Linked DNA regions of Homo sapiens: regions 2 and 3 are each linked to region 1. Evidence: promoter capture Hi-C in 16 types of primary human blood cells and fetal thymus (Javierre and others, 2016). All regions are on one chromosome and are shown on one strand. Each heading gives the region's core, a stretch centred on a gene start or on the middle of the fragment in contact. The rest is flanking DNA. Distances are from core to core; before and after follow the strand shown.

The links. Contacts are between HindIII fragments. The CHiCAGO score rates a contact against its expected background, and 5 or more counts as called.
Region 2: a contact is called between a fragment that was not itself captured here and the fragment with the promoter of PEX12 in region 1, in 3 of 17 cell types (activated CD4 T cells, neutrophils and total CD8 T cells). The highest score is 6.8, in activated CD4 T cells.
Region 3: a contact is called between the fragment with the promoter of SLFN12 here and the fragment with the promoter of PEX12 in region 1, in 17 of 17 cell types (total B cells, neutrophils, monocytes and 14 more). The highest score is 14.9, in total B cells.

What each region holds. Positions count from the first base shown.
Region 1 is chr17:35,577,321-35,580,753 of GRCh38, reverse strand. PEX12 (peroxisomal biogenesis factor 12) reads left to right here and starts at 2,183. Exons shown (of 3, transcript NM_000286.3): 1 at 2,183-2,858; 2 at 3,163-3,433. The coding sequence starts at 2,733. RefSeq lists an enhancer at 2,104-2,919. The HindIII fragment of the contact is 3,440 bases long and covers 936-3,433 here.
Region 2 is chr17:35,334,056-35,337,488 of GRCh38, reverse strand. No RefSeq gene overlaps it. Among named protein-coding and RNA genes, the nearest start is that of SLFN11, 38 kb to the left of the region's middle. RefSeq lists an enhancer at 3,028-3,433. The HindIII fragment of the contact is 1,930 bases long and covers 658-2,587 here.
Region 3 is chr17:35,430,488-35,433,920 of GRCh38, reverse strand. It overlaps SLFN12 (schlafen family member 12), which reads left to right and starts at 1,421. Exons shown (of 4, transcript NM_018042.5): 1 at 1,421-1,733. RefSeq lists enhancers at 1-59, 10-249, 1,070-1,289, 218-1,417, 786-1,511. The HindIII fragment of the contact is 4,520 bases long and covers 1-2,751 here.

The DNA of each region.
Region 1 (3,433 bases), core at 934-3,433:
CTCCAGAGTAGCTGGGATAACAGACATCCACCACCATGCACCATCATTCCAAGCTAATTTTTGTATTTTTAGTAGAGATGGGTTTTCACCATGTCGGCTGGGCCGGTCTCAAACTCCTGACTTCGTGATCCACCCGTCTCAGCCTCCCAAAGTGCTGGGATTACAGGTATGAGCCACCATACCAGGCCCTACCTTTCCTTTTTCTTTTCTTTTTTCTGGAGATGGAGTCTCGCTCAGTTACCCAGGCTGGAGTGCAATGGTGCAATCTCGGCTCACCACAACCTCCGCTTCCAGGGTTCAAGCGATTCTCCTGCCTCAGCCTCCCGAGTAGCTGGGATTACAGGTATGTGCCACCACACCCAGCTAATTTTTTGTATTTCTAGTACAGACTGGGTTTCTCCATGTTGGTCAGGCTGGTCATGACCTCTTGACCTCAGGTGATCCACCCGCCTCGGCCTCCCAAAGTGCTGGGATTATAGGCGTTCTTATGCCATACGTTTAGTTAACTTTTGGAGTACTTCCATGGGACTATCAATCAAGACATCCTGCCTTCCCCTGGCTAAGAGTGAAAGACAGGGTGGAGAGGGAACTTGAACCAAGAGAGGTCAGTCAAAATTTGTATCACGAGCAGAGTCACAAACAGAAATTGGTGGAAGCTCGTTCACTGCAACAACGTTGCCTGGATAAGAACTTCTAATTCCTGTTAGGCAGTCCCAATAGTATTGTTAAGTTCCTGTTCTTTCAGGGCTGGCTTTACTTATTTTGTGAGCTACTCCATACACTTCTAATAAATTCCGTTTTAGTTTAAATTAGCCTGTTTGTTTCTGTTGCTTGTAACCAAAGATCCCTAAGTGACAAAAATGTTTAATTTCCTGCTTGATTTAGTTGATGCTACCTCTCAACTTTGTATTTTTGCTATTCACTTAAGAAAAGCTTGTACATAACAGTTACTATTAAACAAGCACCTAATATGTATCCAGGTGCTTCATATGGATAAACTATGTCTAGTCTTAAAACTCTGTAAGGTAAAAATCATATATCAATATAATGTCTTTTGGTAGAGTAAAAAACACTTTTTATAACTATAATTAAGGACAATTTGTAAGGTTTTCTCTCCTATTGGAATAACTAAATCCAAACCTTGTTTTTGAGGGTTCTCATTATGCAAACCAATTATTTTTATAACATAAGGGCCTCTAGGGCAGTAAACAATACCTTCTATTCCCAGCTATTTAGCCCAGAGGTGGCACTTCCCAGAGGAAGGGAGGAGAGGTGGAACTCTCATCCAAATTCAATAAGGCTGTGTCAGCCAACTTCAGCGAGACAAAGCTGTACATAACATAAAAGCACTTTACAAACCTTAAGGTAAATCACATTCATTTTGGTATAAAAACGGCATGAAAGGAAACTTTCTGTCAAGTGTCCCCAGTGCATGCTAGTTACAATTCATAAAGCTCCCTCTGCGTTAGTACTGTATTCATATCGCTGGTGGTGACATATACAACTGTGTTCAAGGATGGAGACCATTTTCATCCAGTATAGCAAGTGCATGCAGTTATGCTTGAATATAGCCAAAACCTGGAAGACGTTAAACTACCAGCTTGGATGAAAATTAACCGTCTCAAGTACTGAGGAACAAGCATGAACCTTTCTCAATCCAATCATCTTTCCTTATAATTGGCGGCAATAAATCTAAGGCTCCTATCTCCTGCTATGTCGCTTTAAATCATTTCTGGAAGGCTAAGACATATAAATTAACCACCATCCCTGCCGCACGCGTACAGCAAAGTCCTTTCCACCTCCAGATTCCCTTCCTCCCACCGCCCCTAGCTTCATCGCCTGCAGGAACACAGGGCTCAGCAACGGGCCCGAGCTCTGGCTCCCGGCGCCAGACGTCTGCGCGGTGCCCCAAACAGCTTGTCAAAAAGACCTCGCAGAGAGAGGTTCAGAGCTGTAGCTTTCCAGCGAGGCTACCATGCAGACCCAGCTACGAAAAGTAAACCAAACTAGCCAAAACCAGCCCACAAGGGCCCTCTTCTGTTTCAGCGGGGCGGGAGCGGAAGCTCAGGTGGGTCATAGAGTTCTCTAGTTCTGGTTTCCGGACCGCATTCGGAACTAGAGCGCCTCTCTTCCGCCAGGCATCCCAGAGGTCCTGGTGGTTTCATTTCCGGGTGCGGCTTCTGTCATAAAGCGGAGACCTCCCTTCAAACGTGGCGTCGTGGGTTGTTTGCGCCTCGCCTGGGGTCAGCGAGCAAGGACGGGCGCGGGCGGGGATACTCAAAGCCAACAGCTGGAGTCAGCCCTTGTGTCCCGGGCTCACAGTGGCACGACTGAATCCTCAGAGTCGGCTGGCTTTTGAGCTCTCACGATTGGGGAGGAGGGGGCGTTTCTGGTTCGCAGCTCCAGAGGATTGCGTTCCTTCCCCCATACCTGTCCCCCACAGTCACGCTCTGCCCTGACGTGCAGCATTTGACAAGTTACCCCCTCGCCACATACTACTTCCACCCACGTCCGAGTTAACTTTGTTCTTAACCTTCTTGAGACTACCCTCGGCCTCCAGGTCTTTTTTTCCCAGTTCATTTTTGCCCATAAGATTGAGTTTCGAGTTTCAGATATCATGCAGAAAGTTTACCTTTAAGACTGAGCACCCATCTGATACTCTTCCTCCCGAAAAAGTTCATGCTCACGAGAGAGTTTGTGGGAAAAGTGAAAGCCAGTACACGCAGGAAACTATGGCTGAGCACGGGGCTCACTTCACAGCTGCTTCTGTGGCCGATGACCAGCCATCCATCTTTGAGGTGGTAGCACAGGACAGTTTAATGACAGCAGTGAGACCCGCTCTTCAGCATGTGGTCAAGGTAAGGTATTAATTCTTGGAAAGGTTTTAGGGACAACTGGGTAAAAAACAAACGAATAATTTGTGCTTATTTGGTAGCCTAGCGTTTGAAATAGCCAATTTGCAAATAACTTGTATCCCATGACTTAAGAGTTACTGAGTCTCTGTTATGTGTAGAGACCTGTACTGAATACCCAGCATTTCAGGGTCCAACAGTGACTTATTTAAAACAAATTGTGTAGACTTTAGAGGAAAAGGGGGAATGTAAATAGGTGTAGAACTTGTGTAATGGAATGAATTTCACTTATTGCTTTATTTTGCTTTAGGTTCTTGCAGAATCAAATCCCACCCACTATGGCTTCTTGTGGAGGTGGTTTGATGAAATCTTTACTCTGCTAGATCTTCTGCTCCAGCAACATTATCTGTCTAGAACCAGTGCCTCATTTTCTGAAAACTTTTACGGCTTAAAGAGAATTGTAATGGGGGACACTCACAAGTCTCAGAGATTGGCTAGTGCTGGTCTCCCAAAGCAGCAGCTTTGGAAATCTATTATGTTCCTGGTTCTTCTTCCCTATCTGAAAGTGAAGCTGGAGAAGC
Region 2 (3,433 bases), core at 373-2,872, 240 kb after region 1:
TGCTGAGTGCCCTCTCCATATCTGGGCAGCAAGTCCTTTATTAAAAGGGGATCTAGGGAGTGCATCTCCACATCTATCACATCCCACCCTCCTACAGCCTTTTATTTTCTTTTGCATAAGGCTGTAAATACCTCATTCCCCAAAATGTACTTCTTAGCTATTTCCCTGTTCAAGGCATTGATCACATTTACAATGTATGTGATTTGGTTCTGAACACCAGGATGAGGTTCTCCTTGTTTTTTGGGGAATCTATATGACCAACAACCCCACAGCACCTATGTTTCCTCTTTCTCTTACTTCTAGATTGGACACAAGGGGCAATGGAGGGAGGGTCAAGATATTTGTTTAATTTATTCTACTTTATAGCAGAAAAATTTATTTATTTGAAATTGGAATGTATCTAAATTCTCCAGGTATCAGTGTCACTGAGATTTTTAGTACCCACTAATATTGTCTGAGCTCTTATTATGTGTAAATAGACAAAGGTTTTTGTTTTTTAAACCTAGCTTCTTTCTATTGAGATTTCTGAGAATTCCAGGAATGCTTCCATGTTCCACAGATCTGTCCTGGTAGTCTCCGGCCACTTCTTGCAATAAAATGCTGTACCAAGGCCTCTGATAGTTTCTAGTTGGCTTGACATAATGGCTTTTCTAAGCTTCTGTTCCTCTATGCTCCTCTGTATCCCAAGCATGGAAAGAAGTCATATCTTTTGTTTCACACATTAGCAGTCAACACTTGGCCCTACTTTCAACAAGGCTAAGTAAAACTTTGAGCATAGCAAAAGGCAAATACTTAAATTATAATATTAGCAGGAGGAGGCTGAGGTGGGAGGATCATATGAGGCCAGCCTGGGCAACATAGATACCCCCTCTCCAGAAGACAACAACGAAAAATTATCTGGGTGTGGTGGTGTGCTCTTGCAGTCCTAGATACTCCAGTGGCTGAGGCAAGAGGATCGCTTGATTCCAGGAGTTCAAGGTTGTAGTGAGCAATAATCATGTCACTGCATCCTAGCCTGGGCAATAGAGTAAGACCCTATCTCTAACAAAATAATAATAAAACAATCAAAAGTTTAAAATTAGGTATTGGATGTCAGTGTGCCCAGAGTCCTTTGACCACAGATGATCCTGATGGCCTTCTCTCGCCTTGTCCCTGTGCCTCCTTCTACCATTTTTCTTCCTGAGATATTCGAAAATAAGTAGCAGACAGGTTCCCATTTACCTCTAAATACTTCAGTGGGTATTTCCTAAAAGGACATTTATAGTACCATCATCAAAATCAGTAAATTAACATTGATACTATTATCTAATCTACAGACTTTATTGAATTTTATCAGTTGTGCCACAAATGTCTTATGGCAAATGAGAAATAATTCTGGTCTAGGATTTGATCTAAGATCGTGCATTGTATTGAGCTTTCATTTCTTTTAAGTCTTATTTAATCTGGAAATGTTAATCAGTGTTTGTCATATCTTTGACACTATTGAAGAGGATTGGCCTATTATTTTGCAGAGTATCTATGATTTTGGGTCATTCCATGTGTTCTCATGATTAGATGCAGGTTATGCATTTTTGGCATGAATACCATAGAAGGGATGTTATGGTTCTCAGTTCATGGTATTAGAAGGCACTTGATAGTGATTAGTTCCATTCCTGATGATGTTAACTCTGATCATTTGGATAAAGTGACATCTGCCAGGTTTCCCCACTGTGCAGTTACAATTTGCTTTTTGCGATTAATAAATTCCTTTTTTATTCTCATTTAAGAATGAGTTTCTTTAACACCTTGAAAAAATCACACTGGCTCACCAGCAATGGACCCAAACCAAGAAGTAATACCTGATGTATCTGAAAAAGAATTCAGGAGGTTAGTTATTAAGCTAATCAGGGAGGCATCAGAAAAAGGCAAAGCCCAATGCAAGGAAATCCAGAAAATAATACAAGAAGCGAAGGGAGAAATATTTAAGGAAATAACGTAAATAAAAAACAATAAAAACTTCAGGAAACAATGTTCCTGAAACACTTCTAGAAATGCAAAATGCTTTGGAAACTCTCAACAATAGAATTGAACAAGCGGAAGAAAGAAATTCAGAGCTTGAATACAAGGTCTTTGAATTAACCCAATCCAACAAAGACAAAAAAAGAAAATATGAACAAAGCCTCCAAGAAGTCTAGGATTATGTTAAGTGACCAAACCTAAGAAAAATTGGTGTTCCTGAGGAAAAAGAGAAATCTGAAAGTTTAGAAAACATATTTGGGGGAATAATCAAGAAAAACTTCCTGACCATGCTAGAGACCTAGACATCCAAATACAAGAAGCACAAAGAACACCTGGGAAATTCATCACAGAAAGATCATTGCCTAGGGACACTGTCATCAGGTTATTGTTATCTAAAGTTAAGACTAAGGAAAGAAACTTAAGAACTGTGAGGCAAAAGCACCAGGTAACTATAAAGGAAAACCTATCAGATTAACAGCAAATTTCTCAGCAGAAACTCTACAAGCTAGAAGGGATTGGGGCCCTATCTTCAACTTCCTTGAACAAAACAATTATTACCCAAGAATTTTGTATCCAGTGAAACTAAGCTTCATCAATGAAGGAAAGACAGTCTTTTTCAGACCAATGCTGAGAGAATTCACCACTACCAAGCCACCACCACAAGAACTGCAAAAAAAGAGCTTTAAATCTTGAAACAAATCCTAGAAACACATCAAAAGAGAACCTCTTTAAAGTATAAATCTCACAGGACCTATAAAACAATCAATTTAAAAAGCAAAAAACAAAAAACAAAGGTATACAGGCAACAAATAGCACGATGAATGGAATGATACCTCACATCTCCATGCTAACATTGAATGTAAATAGCCTAAATGCTCCCCTTAAAAGATACAGAACTGAAGGATAGATAAGAACTCACCAACCAACCATCTGCTGCCTTTGGGAGACTCACCTAGCACATAAGGACTCACAAAAACTTAAGGTAAAAAGATGGAAAAAGACATTTCACATGAACGGACACCAAAAGTGAGCAGGAATAGCTATTCTTATATCAGACAAAACAAACTTTAAAGCAACAGCAGTTAAAAAAGACAAACATGGGGGTGGCTGGCAAGATGGCCGAACAGGAACAGCTCTGGTCTGCAGCTCCCAGGGAGTTCAATGCAGAAGGCGGGTGTTTTCTGCATTTCCAAAGGATGTACCTGGCTCATCTCACTGGGACTGGTTAGACAATGTGTGCAGCCCATGGAGGGCAAGCAGAAGCAGGGTGGGGTGTTGCCTCACCGGGGAAGTACAAGGGGTTGAGGAACTCCCTCCCCTAGCCAAGGAAGCCGTGAGGGATTGTGTCGTGAGGAATGGTGCACTCTGGCCCTGATACTACACTTTTCCCAAGGTCTTCACAACCCGCAGATCAAAAGATTCCCTTGGGGGCCTA
Region 3 (3,433 bases), core at 172-2,671, 150 kb after region 1:
CTATGTGCTTTCAATATATACGTTATTTAATGTGAATAGGTACTCTTCCTAGGTACCTTAAGATTTTAGAATAGGCAGTAGGCAGTTAATGCAGTCCAGAGTGGGGTAGGTGGAGCTTGCGGAGAAGGAGCAACTCAGACTTGCACATTCCCCTGTGATGAGTCATCGTGGCCTGTGTGCATTTCAAAAGCTATGTACTGAGACACCAATTCTTAGACAAGTTAGCAGGAAAAACATGTATTACCATAATTATCATAATAAGGGGGCTAAAGGAAAGCAAAGTGGCAGGAGGACTGTATCCGGCCAGACTAGCCTTTGGAGCATCCCAATAAAGGAATCTCCCAAATGGCCCCAAGATGCTCCCTACACTGCCAGGGGTAGGTATTTGAATCTGTCTGTCCTGGAGCAATCCGCTCCTTGCACCTTTGTCCTCTCCTGTCCATCCACAGCTGCCCTGGCCTGGTTCCTGGGGGCAACCGTGCTTTTAAGCAAGGGGGCAGCAGTGCTGCTCTGGGAATGCGAGTACAGCTGGAAAGGTTGAGTCACCCCTTTAGGGGCATGGTAAGAATGCCTGGTATTTCTTCAATTTTGATGAACCAAAATAGTGACAATTGCCCAAAGGCGCAGAGTCGATAATAAAGAGTGCGGACACTTCCGGAGCGCCAGCTGCCCAATAGAAATGCAGGCCACGCTGGGGAAGTGTGGAGCCGCAGCCCAGGATGGGGAGGGCCGGAAAACAGAAAAGGATTCGCGTTCTTTTTACTCTGTGGAGAGTGAGCCCGCGGACTGTAGCCTGGGCCTCGCCAAGTTCCTTTGTTCTTTGTTTTCTTTAAATTACCTTTTTTCTTTTTGTCTTAAAAAATACACATGGGTGAAAAAGAAACGAGAGCTCCCTAGAGATCACTCAGAGCTGTTTTCGTGGGTTTTTAACTTCCAGTTGCTCAAGGGTCCACGCTGGCATCTGGGGTGTGCTCGCACCTGCGAAGAATCCAGCTTCTAGGGAGCACCGCGAGCTGGTAAGTTGGTCCTGCTCCATCGCTAAACCTTCCAGCCTTAGTTTTTCATTTCTGGGGAGTCTGCTGGCTCGGGAGGAGGTGGGGCACTGGTAACACAACCCCACCACTCCCGGGAAGATCCCCGCACCCCCATCCCGGTCTGCTTTCTCTCCCTTCTGAAGCAGGAGAATAAGGGTCTGGAGGAAAATCCCAACTTTCCACAAACTTCCTTTGTAGCCCCTCCTTTTCTACATGGCAGATGAAAAACTGAAAATACCTCTGATTGGTCCCCTCCCGCAACCAATCAGACTGGTCTCCAGGGCCAAGTCTTCATGTGCATAGGAATGTAACTTTGTAACTTCGCTTTCTGCGTCCAATCAGATGTTTTCATAGGGCATAACTTTGTAACTTCACTTCAGCCTCCCATTGATCGCTTTCTGCAACCATTCAGACTGATCTCGGGCTCCTATTTCATTTACATTGTGTGCACACCAAGTAACCAGTGGGAAAACTTTAGAGGGTACTTAAACCCCAGAAAATTCTGAAACCGGGCTCTTGAGCCGCTATCCTCGGGCCTGCTCCCACCCTGTGGAGTGCACTTTCGTTTTCAATAAATCTCTGCTTTTGTTGCTTCATTCTTTCCTTGCTTTGTTTGTGTGTTTGTCCAGTTCTTTGTTCAACACGCCAAGAACCTGGACACTCTTCACTGGTAACATATTTTGGCAAGCCAACCAGGAGGTAAGCCCAAAGTCTGGGATTTATTTTTCTCCTTTCCCTTTTCCTTTCTGCTCCATACAGGTAAATCTCTCTCTTTCTCTTTTCCTTTCCAACGTGGGATCCTTGGTGGGTAGCGCCTAGACACGGAGGCGACTGCAGGTTTCTGGCCGGGGGCTACTCTCCAGTGCTGCCTTGAAGGCCAAGGAGTGAATGGGGATAGTTGCCCTGCCCAGAAGCGGGAAGGGCTCTTTTCTGTCTTTTCTGGTTGTGGTCCCTGATCCCTATGTGTGACGCAGCTTCTCCAGGGCGAACTCACACGTGTTTCAGGTGACTTAAACCTTCTTTCCTTATGTTAAATTCTTCCCTTCCCCTACTCTACTGGCTAAGGTTAAAAGAAACCCACCTAGCCTCCATTTCATATCATTAAAGTTCATGACTATCACTCTAGTGGAATGGGAACCATGGGAAAGCATGGCCTTATCAAATTATAAGGATGCTAGAAGTCAAGGCCTTCATCCAGAGACAAAAGGAAAGCTCACAGTAGGCCATCCCCTCTGGAGGGAAAACATGTAAAGTGGCACTGGTGACCACCTAAGGTCAGAGACGTCTGACGCTCTAAGATTGGACCCTAAAGGGGGATGCTCTGGAGGATCCTTTGGACCTCAGCCTCTCCAAGGGGGTTCCTTTGGTAGAGGTTCTTAGGCCTAGTACTAAGCCCTCCTTAGAATTTTCTCTTCCGGTTGCAGTAGTGTTTGGCCTCAATATTGTTTGGAATCTGGAGTTTGCTGTTGAATGGTAAAGTGGGATGGAGTTGCATGTATGCAGGCTCTTGTGCTGCTGTTCTAAGCAGGGTTGTGTCGGGTTAAAGTGTGATGTTCTCCTTTGGTGCTGTTTGGCCTCAGCGTTCTTTGAAGTGCGAGGAAGTTTGACCTTTAAAAATCAAACTGCCATGGAAACCGCTGACTTATAAATTGCTAAAGTTGTTTATAACCAATGTTTGGTTTCTCAAATCCATATTCCTGGGAAGACAATCAAAGCTTCAGGTACATTTGGCTACCCGATGGGCCATTTAAACATTTACAAAGGGATTTTATTCAATGTCACTTTCAATGCATGTTTTCTTGTTGTATAAAAGCTTTTCCCATGATTATGCTACAGTGTATTTTCACCAGGTAAAGAAAGCTTTTTATGGTTCACTGAGAACAATCAACCCCTTCACAACCTAGAACCCATAGGATAGATGTTCTCAGAACATCTACTGTAAAGGCCATAGTTACACAACAGACTTTAAATTCTTTTGTGAAAGTTATGATAGAATTGGCTGAACAGAGAAGTATCTGTGCAGCTGCTGGCACTTAGAGTCTATGGAGAAATACATTAAATGAAGATTAAGAGATTCAGTTGTAGGGGATTAATGAGGAGATTGTTTACTTAAGTTGGTAGATTCTTTATTTAGTTCATTATTTGATCTATTTAATTTTAACTGGTTTGGTTTATGGGAACCCTGGGCAAGGAGCATCCTCCAAACTCTTGGTATTATCCTCCCAATAGTCATCATAATAATAGGCTCCCTGGTGCACTGTATTCTCTCAAAGGTTTTCGATGTTTGCATGCAGCCATCTCTAGAATGTCAAATGGTCTCTCTTCAACTGGAATGATGAGAAGTGAAACAAATATGCGACCATGAGGACACTGTAACCTATGGATGGTGTGCTGAGACT